Regions from separate parts of the Homo sapiens genome. Here regions 1 and 3 are each linked to region 2. The links are contacts of gene promoters, found by promoter capture Hi-C in human tissues and cell types (Jung and others, 2019). All regions are on one chromosome and are shown on one strand. The core of a region is centred on a gene start or on the middle of the fragment in contact, and the rest is flanking DNA. Distances in the headings are between cores, read along the strand shown. Region 1 overlaps MTIF3 (mitochondrial translational initiation factor 3). Region 2 holds the start of CDX2 (caudal type homeobox 2). Region 3 holds the start of RPL21 (ribosomal protein L21).

Region 1 (3,433 bases), core at 833-3,332, 520 kb before region 2:
TCACTGCTGGACACATTCTATATTTATTTGCATATATGTTCATAATCTTTCCTCACTGGAATGAAAGCTTCATGAGAACATGGACTTTGTCCATTTTGTTCACTGCTGTGTTCCCCGGCACTACAGCTCAGAGCCTGGCTCAGCATGCACATGTCGAATGAATGCACGGGCCGAAGGAAACAGCCAAGGAGCTATGGCAGGGCTGCTGGCATTTAACCTCTACACCTTCGGATGTGTCACGAATGCCTACAAACTACACCCTTCACATTTCTAGCTGGCATTTCAGATGCCCGTCAGTAATGGTGAGTATCTGTGGCCAGATGCTCCATCCACAGTGTATGACATGCATTGATTTATGGTTATTACCCAGCTGGTGGCTCCAGCTGTAGATGCTGTAAAGGCTCTAAGGTGGGAGCAAAGTGATTTTAAATCACTGACATACTGTTTAATAAAAAGTCAGATCTTTTGTGAATGGAGGAAGCCCCCAAACCAAAAAAGAAGAAAAATCTGAAAAGATCACAGAAGATTTTTTTTTCACTTATCAGAAAACTAGCAGCAGCATCCAGTCCCAAATGTCACTAGGTATTCTGCTAGGGGACTCTTAAGTTCCTGCTCACAAGCCTGCTCTATAAACTTTATGTCTAAAATCAGTGTTGTTTCTTTCCAAAGTCTGTATTAGCGACAATGATGTAGAAGTTATCACATGTAAAATCATGTTACTAAATAGATAGATATAAATTCTAATATTCTTGATATATACAGTAGACAAAACAGTTCACTGCAATTAAGCTTTAATACTAACTCAGTACTGGCTATCTTTTTCCCTTAGTAGTTATGAATAAGAGCTAAAGTGCCTTGTTTAATAAATTATCAACATATTAAAATATAAAAAATTTCAAAATTTGATTTTTTTCAAACAAGCAAACAAAATAACTAGATATAGGAAAAGATGAAAAAAATTTATAAAAATGTTGAAGACAAAAGCAATTCATTCCCCTATTTTTCCTAATTGCCAGTATTTCTCAAGTTTTTTTATAAGTGTTATTTTTATACTTGAAAATAAATTTTATTTACAAAATAAAGACTATTTCAGAAAAATGACGTAGGTTTTTTAAAAAAGCTTTAAAAACACTTTCCAAGAAGGAAACAAAGGAAAGGGAAAGAATAGAAAAACACTGGAAGTAGGGCCGGGTGCAGTGGCTCACGCCTGTAACCCCAGCACTTTGGGAGGCTGAGGTGGGCGGATCACAAGGTCAGGAGATCGAGACCATCCTGGCTAACACAGTGAAACCCTGTCTCTACTAAAAAATAAAATAAAAATTAGCTGGGCGTGGTGGCGGGCGCCTGTAGTCCCGGCTACTCGGGAGGCTGAGGCAGGAGAATGGCGTGAACCCGGGAGGCGGAGCTAGCAGTGAGCGAGATTGCGCCACTGCACTCCAGCCTGGGCGACAGAGCGAGACTCTGTCTCAAAAAAAACGAAAAAAAAAAGAAAAACACTGGAAGTATATAACTTTTAAAGTTCTTTGCCACTAGTTTAAATTTTTAAGAAACTTCAATTTTTATTGATGTATACAGCAAACAATGCAATTCATTGCAATTAAGCTTTAATACTAACTCAATACTGGCTTTAAATCAGCAAAATTGAAAATATACGTTTCTTCAAAACAGGCCCTTATAGATAAAAATATAAATACAAAGTTAAAACAACCTGTAATATTACATTTAAATTGCAGCTATCAACATAAATTCATAATTTAAAAACTTTTTATTAGGGAACTTTTTAACCTTGTACAGAAAGAACTGGATAATAAACAGCAGCTGGGTTTCATCTTTACCCCTCAACTATCTCCCCCCAACCATCCAGGAATGCTTTCAAAGTAAATCCTACTTTTTCAGGAAATAGTATGTATCTCTAAGAGGTACTCCTTAATCTTTTTAGTATTCACAATATTATCCCAATTAAAAAACGTTCCTTTATTTCATCAAATATTTAGCTTTCAGATTTCCATGATGGTATTATGATTTTGTTTGTTTACATGTCATTTACAGTTTGGCAGCATGAAGAGACTCCCACTGGTCAATTTTGGTGTAATTTAAACAGTAAGGCATAATCACTGTCATTCATTTCAATATACTGAATATACAAAAATCTATGAAAATGATAATTTGCCACAACTGCATGGGACTATTATATTGATTTTTTACTTTGAAAATTGCTAATTAAATAAAAAGAACTGAGCATTTATCCTACCTTTTTTAGGAAGAACTGTAATCATCCCCAGTTGATGAGGAGAAGCTCTTCTGTAGAGAAGAATGACAGCTAATAAACACAAAAGAAAAGTAAAAGTAATTAGAAAATCATGCCACGCACGATGTCTCACACCTGTAATCCCAGCACTTTGGGAGGCCAAGGCGAGAGGATCACTTAAGGCCAGGAGTTTGAGACCAGCCCGGGACACACAGCAAGACCCAGTCTCTACAAAAAATAAATTAGCCAGGTGTGTTGACACGCAACTGTACTCCCAGCTACTGGGGAGGCTGAGGAAGGAGGTTCACTTGAGCCCAGGAGGTTGAGGCTGCAGTGAGCTCTGATCACACCACTGCACTCCAGTCTGGACAACAGAGCAAGACCCTGTTTCAAAAAAAAAAAAAGAAAATCACCATTTTTCCAACCCCAACGAAACTACTGATTCAGGCAGGATGCAAGAGAGCTGATGCCAAAGGGTCACAAACAGATTACTTTCAGACTGAGAGGGAAAAGCACACTCTGCTGAGGGTAGACAGCTGTCTGTCATCCTAAGCCAACGTCAGACTCAGCATCTCCAACAGTGGAACAACCTGCCATCCTTGCCACATCTCTGGATGGGAAGCTACCCAAAGTGCATGGCACCTTCTATTAAGCAGCTTTGCCAAAAAGGTTTGACCTGAACCTGATGCAGGGTCTAGCTTCCAGTTTCCAGGGGATACAAGGGCCAGACTCAGAGAAACAATAGAAGATGCCACAAGGAAACAATCTGACAAATCCAGATGGAACAAGACACCTGGTTAGTGTCTAAAAAAGCCAATGCCATTGGGAATGAAAAGGGAAGAGGGAAGCTATTCTTGAGTGAAAAAAAAAATCAAGGAGACATAATTTTGCTGAAAAGAAATGTTGGGAATGAGGGGAAAATCTGAATAGGGACTAGGTATTAGATACTATTAGAGACGTATTGTTAATTTTCTTTTTTCTTTTTTTTTTGAGACAGGTTCTCACTCTGTCACCCAGACTGGAGTGCAGTGGGGCAATCTCGGCTCACTGCAACCTCCGCCTCCCAGGTTCAAGTGATTCTCCTGCTTCAGCCTCCCAAGTAGCCGGGATTACAGGTGTGCACCACTACCGCCTGGCTAATTTTTGTATTTTTAGTAGAGATGGGGTTTTACCATGTTGGCCAGG
Region 2 (3,767 bases), core at 1,095-3,594:
TGCGGCCTTGCCACCTCGGCGCAGGACTTCACAGCGGCCTCTCATCTGCTGACCCCGCGGCCTGGGCTCTGGCGGCTTCCCTCCCGCCCCCTTCCCGGCCCTCACCCCGCGGCCGCTCTCCCGGGACACGCAAAGGTCTTCCTTAGGGCGTGCGCCACCCCCGCCAACCGCGCCCCAGACAGGGGCTGTAGAAAGTGGGTCTTTGGGAGCCAGGATCTGGGAGCCCCTGCTAGGAGAAAGGCGCCTCCTCTAGGAGAAGGGACCAAGCCAAAGCTCTGAGGCTCACCCGAGGCTGATCTGTGGCCTTCTCCCCGGTCGGCGGCATTCCCACCAGGACTCTCCCTAGCATGTGCACAGTGACGCAGAAACCGATGCCCAGAGACAGCCCCCAAAGGGCGCTTTGATTTATACAGTTGTAATTGGCTATAAACTTCTGCAAAGTGCCCATAACCAGCGTGCCTGCCCAATTGGGGCATCAAGGAGCGAAGCAAGAAAAGCGGAAGCGCTGAGGGCTGGGGAAAGACTTTAAAAGGGGCACTCAACTAGGACTCTCCCCACCGCACTTCCTTGCCACCTCTAGGCACACTCGAACACCAGAAGGGGCAGACCCAGAGTCAATGAGCCCCACAGTCCGGCAAACCTAGGATCTTTTTCAGTTGCACACACACACTCACAGACATCCCTGACACCCTTGAAAGGAAGCTTTGGGAGAAATGACCCCTACCTGGAGCGGCGGCTTAATTCCCACCAGGGTTTCCTCCCCGTCTCCCTGCTCTCTCCGCAGACGCCTGCCCCTAGGCTTCTTGCCCCTAGCCTTCCAGCTTTTGCTTGAAATGACCCCTTCACAGGTCAGAGGTTCAGAGACGGGGCGCGCCCCCGTCGCCTTAGCAGCTGGGGCTAGCACCTTCTTCCCAGCGACAGCAGCTCTCCCTGGTCTGCCTGCTCGCTGTACCTTGAATTGGCCCGAGTGGCCAAACCCGGTCCCACACACAGCCTAGCCATCCTCCGACCCCCCCAGGTCACTTCTCTTCTTAGATGGCTCAGATGGGGAAAGAGAGAGCGGAGATAAATGGCCTAGACCTAGCCCAAGAAGGTTCGAGCCTCCCTCTCTCCTCGGCGGCCAGGAGCCACGCAAGGAATGCATGCCGCAGCAAGTGCCGGAGGACGCGATTCTGCCGGCGTCCAGCAGTGCTCACGCCGACATTCCCCGGAGCTTCCCGAAGGTGTCCCGGGGTTGCGAATGAGGAGCTCTTGGAAAGAGGACGCCTGAACACGGTGTTGAGACTCAGAATATTCACTCCCAGGCTCAGTAGGTCAGAGAAGCCCCGACGGGCCAGAGGCCCCCGAATTTGTCTCCGGGCCGTGCCCCTCCTGGCGCCGAGCTCCCAGACAGCCCGGGACGCCCCTGTGCGCACTGGACGCGCGACGCGCAGCAGCCACTGGCTCGACCCGCGCCTTCCCAAGCACCCTCCGAAGGGGCGCAGCCTCTGCTTACCTTGGCTGCCGAGGGACTGCTGCGCCGGCTTCCGCATCCACTCGCACAGGTTCCGCCGCTGGCCGCCGGGAGACAGCTGCTCGGCGGCAGCGGTGGCGGCGGGCCCAGGAGGGCCGGGGTTGAGCGTTTGCAGCAGCCCAGAAGCGCAGGAAGGCGCGGCGGCCGGGTGGTGCGGGTGGTGATGCGGGTGGTGGTGCGGATGGTAGTCTGCGGGGCTGCTGTAGCCCATGGCTGCGGCCGGGGAGCCACCGTTGAGGCCGTGAGCCACGGCGTTGGCGGCGGCCGCGGCGCCTCCGGGCGCGTAGCCATTCCAGTCCTCCCGGAGTGGGGCGCCATACGCTGCCGGCCAGGATGGCCCCGGGGACTGCGCGCTGTCCAAGTTCGCTGCCGCTGCAGCTGCGGCCGCCACGTGGTAACCGCCGTAGTCCGGGTACTGCGGGGGGCTGACGAAGTTCTGCGGCGCCAGGTTGAGGCCGCCAGAGTGGCGCACGGAGCTAGGGTACATGCTCACGTCCTTGTCCAGGAGGTAGCTCACGTACATGGTGGCGAGGGTCCGGGAGCAGACCTCACCATGCTGCCTGGGGACCGACGCTGGAGGCTGCCGGGGGGCACGAAGGGAAAGGGGCGAGGGGACTCGAGGAGCGGCGGGTGGCTGCGCCCCAGCCCGCGGTGCTCCGCTGGCTCCTCGCGGCTCTTCTGCCTCCGAGGCGGTCCCTCCCTCTGGCCTGCCTCCTCCCTCCCTCCCTTTCTTCCTTCTTTCCTCCCACCTCCTTCCCACTAGGCTGCAGAGGCGGGGAAGACCCGCCACAGGCTGGCGTGCGGAGCCCCAGGCCGGCGGCCTTCCGTGATTAACGAGTGTTTACAAGACTCTATTAGTAATGACACAGACACCAATGGTTGGAGACGTCGAGGCGCAGCGCGCACTCTACGCACAACCCCTCGAAACATAATTTGCATTTTAAAAGATAAAGGGGAGGGAGGCTCGTGAGAGGGCAGCGACCTGACACAGCTAAATATTCAAACCTTTATTGTTAAGAGCTTCCTCCTTCCAACCTGGTGCACTTTAACCTCCAATCACAGGTTCAAAGAATGAAATCAAGAGACTTACAAAAGAGAGGGGAAGAGAAAAGGCTATCTTGGTAGGAATCTGAGCTTGGAGACAGGAGCAGTGGTTGTTTATGCATTTGCAGGGAAGAGGGCGGTCAAGAAACTCCTTCTGTCCCAAAGAGAAAAGAAAAGAGAACCATTGCTTTGATGAGAACGTTTCTGACCAACCTGGTAGGTGACAAGCAGAGAGCCCTAAGAGATGGGCCATTCCTTCCCGCCCTGTGCTCCTGGCCCGGACGACTGCAGCCCCAAACAACTGTCACCTCCAGTTATTTTCTTGCCCAAGGAAATTACTCGCCCTCCGCACAAGACAAATTATGATCCTAGATTCAGGCTGCATCTCTGACTTCATCTTACATTTGAAATTTGAGTTAAATTCAAGCGATTTATTGTTAAACGTTTACATTCAAGAATCAGAAGTTTTAAACTACAGAAGTAATGGGCATGTGGTAGAAGTTAGGCTAGTGGTTATTGGCGTGCATAACTGGAGGCGAGCTAGGGGATCGTTGGTAAAGCAGTTTCTTAGGCTGCTGGTTACACAGAATGTCAGTTTGTGAAAATTCATTGAGCTACACTTGTATGTTTATTATACTTAAATATAAGGAAAAGAGAATTTCTGCTAATGCTTACCTAGGTATTTATGTGTCTTACATCATACCTGTATCTTTAAAACTCTCTGTCCTTTACAAAGGGAAACGTTCTCCGAAGAAATTTATTTCTCATTTCCAGGAGATGATAAGGCAACTCAGGGCCATTATTAACGACTGCTAATGAAAAGCTCTGAGTTGAGAAAGGATCTCTCTTGGTTTGGGAAGCGCTGCGGCCAAGGGGCCTAGGGCTGGAAGTGGCCGTCTTGGGGACCGAAGCCGCGCAGCCCGGGATCGGGAGCTGCCCCGACAGGAGCGCGGAGGCGGCGAGATTCGGCCCCCGCGCGCGCCCAGCTCGGTTTCAGCAACCGCGTGGAGTGGGCCTGCGGCCGCCGTTCACCTCCTAATACAAGCCTTTGACAGCGCTGCCAGATTCGGGAATGAGGATCACTGCGGCGAGGCCCGGCGGGCTGGGCAGCCTGACTCGGCGGCTTTGAGCGCTCTCAGAACCCGCGGGCGCTCGCGGCACTCCTGGAGACCTGCACTTGTCTGTTCTCATTGTCAAGCGTTTCGCTCGG
Region 3 (3,611 bases), core at 623-3,122, 720 kb before region 2:
ACTCCAGCCTGGGCAACAAGAACAAAATTCCCTCTCAAAGAAAGAAAGAAAGTAATGGGAAAGGAAAAGTGACCTGAGGAAGTGAGTGCTAACAGAGTGACTGTAATAATGAACTACAGAAAATTAAGTTAAAGACAATCTAGAAGCCAAGGGCTAATGGTTACAGTGAAAGTCTGGAGGAGTCAACGTATTGAAGGAATCAATACCAAATCCTATTCCTCCTCAAGTTCTTCAGCAAATGATGTTAAGTGCTGATGACGATGGTCACAGAATGTACACATTTAAAAAATGGTGCTGACGCAGTTCTTAGAAATTACAACTTTCAGGTGCATCAGGAGAGTGAGTCGAAGACATGCAAATTTCAAAAGCGACTGGACGATATTATTTATATTCAGTCTGATAAGGGATTTTGTTAACTTAGCTGACTTTTTAAAAATGCATCCTAAAAATACATACAATCATGAGAAAAACATGAGACAAATTCCATGATTAGGACATCCTACAAAATACATGACCAGTACTCCTCAAAACTCTCAAGGTCACCAAAAGTAAGGAAAGTTTGAGAAACTGCCACAGCCACAAGAGGCATATAAGGAGACATCATAACTAAATGTAATGTGGTATTCTGGATGGAATCCTGGAACAGAAAAAGGGTATTAGGTAAAACCGAAGGAAATCTGAATAAAATGTGAACCTTAGTTAATAACAGTGTAAAATATTGGTTCATTAATTGCAACAAATGTACCATATTAGCATGAGATGTTAATAATAGGGGAAACTGGATGCTGGGTATATGGCATTATCTCAATTTAAATAAACTACATTAAGAAAATAATATCTATTTTTAAAGGTGTAGTGAATAAAACAATGGCCACCCATATATTTAACACCCGGTTTAATAATGGTCAATACAGTTAAAGCCTCCCTTTATTGTCCCCTCCTTACCAGATATGACTGCTTTTCTCAACTTGATTTTCATTCTCTTGTATTTCTTGACTTCTTTAACTACATATGTATGCATAACTAAGCAATATATAGCATTGTTTTACAAGTTTTAGAGTTGAATGTATATGAATTGTCATACTATTTATTTTTCTACATCTTTCTCTTTTTGCCTCATCACATTTCTGAGTTCAGTCTTCTTTTATTGGCGTATAATACTACATCCTAACATCCCATAAGGTATTTATTCTGTTATTGATGGACGTTTCTAATTTTTTGCTTCTACCCACAGCGCTGTTACGTACATCCTTGTTCACTTACCAAAGTTTCTACAAGACATATAGGTAGGAGCAGAGTGCTGGGGTTTAGTAATTGAAAACTTTTACTAGATTTTGCCACATTGCTTTCCCAAAGAGGTTTTAACATTTGCGCACCTACTAGCAGGTGCGTATGTTTAGACGTGTGGAGGAGAAACTATTTAAAGACATACAAACTAGATAATATACTTGCTTCATTCTCGTTTGACCTTCGTACCCAAGCAATTATTTCTGCAAACAAACAAATAAACAACTACTAATAGCACTTCCCGCACCGCCAGCCGCAGTTTTCCCTGCGGAGACGCGGATACAAGGCAGCTTCCGGCGAAGGCGGTGACGCAAAGGATGGCGTAAGCACGCTCGGGACGACGGCGTCCTCTTGATCGCCCTTGAAGGCCCCTTTCCGGGCTGTCTGACACGATGCAAGTGTCAGCTTGTGTTGGCCGGTTGCCTTTCTTTCGCAAGAGGGGAAAATATCCTCACAGACTTTCTGTGTTCTCAGAGACGATCTTCTTCCCTAGAAAGAAGTCGCTTACGGTTGGCGTTTCCCTCAGGCAGCGCCGTGGGCAGCCCACAGGCCCTTGTAAGGCGCGCGCCGCGGCCCCGCCTCTTTCCTTTCGGCCGGAACCGCCATCTTCCAGGTAGGGCCTACGCGTGGCTCCCGGGCGCTAGGTGTTCGACAGACTTGAACCGCGACCTTGTGGCCTCAGAGGTCGTTCATTGGGACCGTGGGGAGACTCTCTAACCTGTTTGAGGTCCATTGGCATGGGCGGGTTAAACCATGTTCTGCCAGACGGGGAGCAGCGTGCGCCGGGTCGGGTCTGGGCCGTGGGCTGAGAACCGGACTGCGATGTTGCGGCCCTGCGGGGGGACATTTGCGAGAAAGACGAGACTGAGTCGCTTGGGGTGAGGCGACTCGAGTTAATCTTTAAAAGACTTCGTTTTATGTTCCCGTGGCTGCATCTCCGGTACTGTGGGTGGCCCCTCTCACATAGGCTGTGTGGGGGCCGCGTGGCCTGATGCCTTTCTAACTCCTTTCAGTGTGGCTTTTTTATTCCAAATCTTGCGATGATGTTGGGTGAGGACTTAAGGGGTAGTAGGAATGGGTTTAAAGTCAGGCGTCGGCTTTAATCTTCTGTGAAGCCTACAGGTGTGAAAACCCGGGCTCTCGGTCGGAGAGTGGGTCCCGGAGTCGTCCTGGGTGATGAACCCTCACTGCCCTTAGTTAATGCATAAGACGATTTCCGACTGTTTTTAAAATTTTGACCCCACATGGTGATCGGACGAAGGGAAAGTGTTTTGAGGTTGCAACACCAATATTTGCACCAAGAGGAGATACTGTTTTGCGAATTCTAGGGCAGCATGCTTTGAGTGAAGGGAAACATTTAGCCATAGTTCATCATTTTGTCTAGTTTGTGGACGTCAACAGAGTCGAGCAAACTGCAGGTTGCTCTTTATGGTGGATCCTAGTTGCCATGATTTTAATACTCTTACAAACTGTAAAGCATCGTTTTGAAAAGTGCCTTCAGTTTTAAGTGTATGGGGTCCATGCTTAAAATGGATTCCAAACTCAGAAAGATGGATCTAGTGGAGGATTATGGGCTCTGGAATCAGGAATGAGTTAACTGATTATGCCACTTGGTGATTCCACAAAGTGACTTGAATCTACACAGTATCACCCTTTGTGTACTAACTTAGCACAAGTTTTTGGAACTTTATACACATCTAAAGGCTTTGGGGATTGGAACAGAGTACCTGGCATTTAAAGGGTTCATCCATTGTAACAATGGTTTGACTTTGGTGAGTTAGGTGAAACATGTCTTCTTGCTATACAATTTTTATAAAAATGGTACTTTGGGAGCCATTCTTAAAGGATTGTTGGTAAACTTAGAAACCAAATTGTGTTAGAATATTGTCAACACGTCAAGCCTGACTGCTGTATTTTACCTTATGGTAGGAGTAATGGCCAGGAATGGCATTTCTGCCCTATAATGACTAAAGAGCTATCAAAACTATTGTTTTGGCCTTTTTGGGAAACAAAGGAAAGGTTAATTTCTAAATGCCTGTAGGTGAATTCTTAGATAATGATAAATTAGCTGCCGGTTACTACTGAGCACTTTACACGGGCCAAGCATTGCTGAGTTCTTTGTAGACATTACCTCAGCTACGAAAGTGTTCACCCCTATTTTACAAATGAAGATGAGAGATGAAATGTGGGTGTCCCAGCTAGTAAGTGGCAGAGCCTATGTCAAATTTAGGTCAATGATTATAAAGCCTGGGTTCCCCTCTCTTCTACCCTATATACGTTCGTAGTAAATAATCAGAAATGTGAAGTGGCTTGAGATTTCTGAT

What was found. The method cuts DNA at HindIII sites, captures the fragments that hold promoters and counts their contacts. A contact is called where the count stands out against the background at its distance.
Region 1: a contact is called between a fragment that was not itself captured here and the fragment with the promoter of CDX2 in region 2, in 1 of the 25 tissues and cell types used here (H1 embryonic stem cells).
Region 3: the fragment with the promoter of RPL21 here is called in contact with the fragment with the promoter of CDX2 in region 2 in 1 of the 25 tissues and cell types used here (mesenchymal stem cells).

What each region holds. Positions count from the first base shown.
Region 1 is chr13:27,442,837-27,446,269 of GRCh38, forward strand. It overlaps MTIF3 (mitochondrial translational initiation factor 3), which reads right to left. Exons shown (of 5, transcript NM_152912.5): 2 at 2,252-2,320. Among named protein-coding and RNA genes, the nearest start is that of MTIF3, 6.0 kb to the right of the region's middle. The HindIII fragment of the contact is 3,309 bases long and covers 429-3,433 here.
Region 2 is chr13:27,966,971-27,970,737 of GRCh38, forward strand. CDX2 (caudal type homeobox 2) reads right to left here and starts at 2,345. Exons shown (of 3, transcript NM_001265.6): 1 at 1,496-2,345. The coding sequence starts at 2,036. RefSeq lists enhancers at 1-195, 1,580-2,271. The HindIII fragment of the contact is 6,465 bases long and covers 1-3,767 here.
Region 3 is chr13:27,249,686-27,253,296 of GRCh38, forward strand. It overlaps RPL21 (ribosomal protein L21), which reads left to right and starts at 1,873. Exons shown (of 6, transcript NM_000982.4): 1 at 1,873-1,900. RefSeq lists enhancers at 1,177-2,376, 1,195-1,780, 1,588-2,127, 1,781-2,366. The HindIII fragment of the contact is 12,000 bases long and covers 1-3,611 here.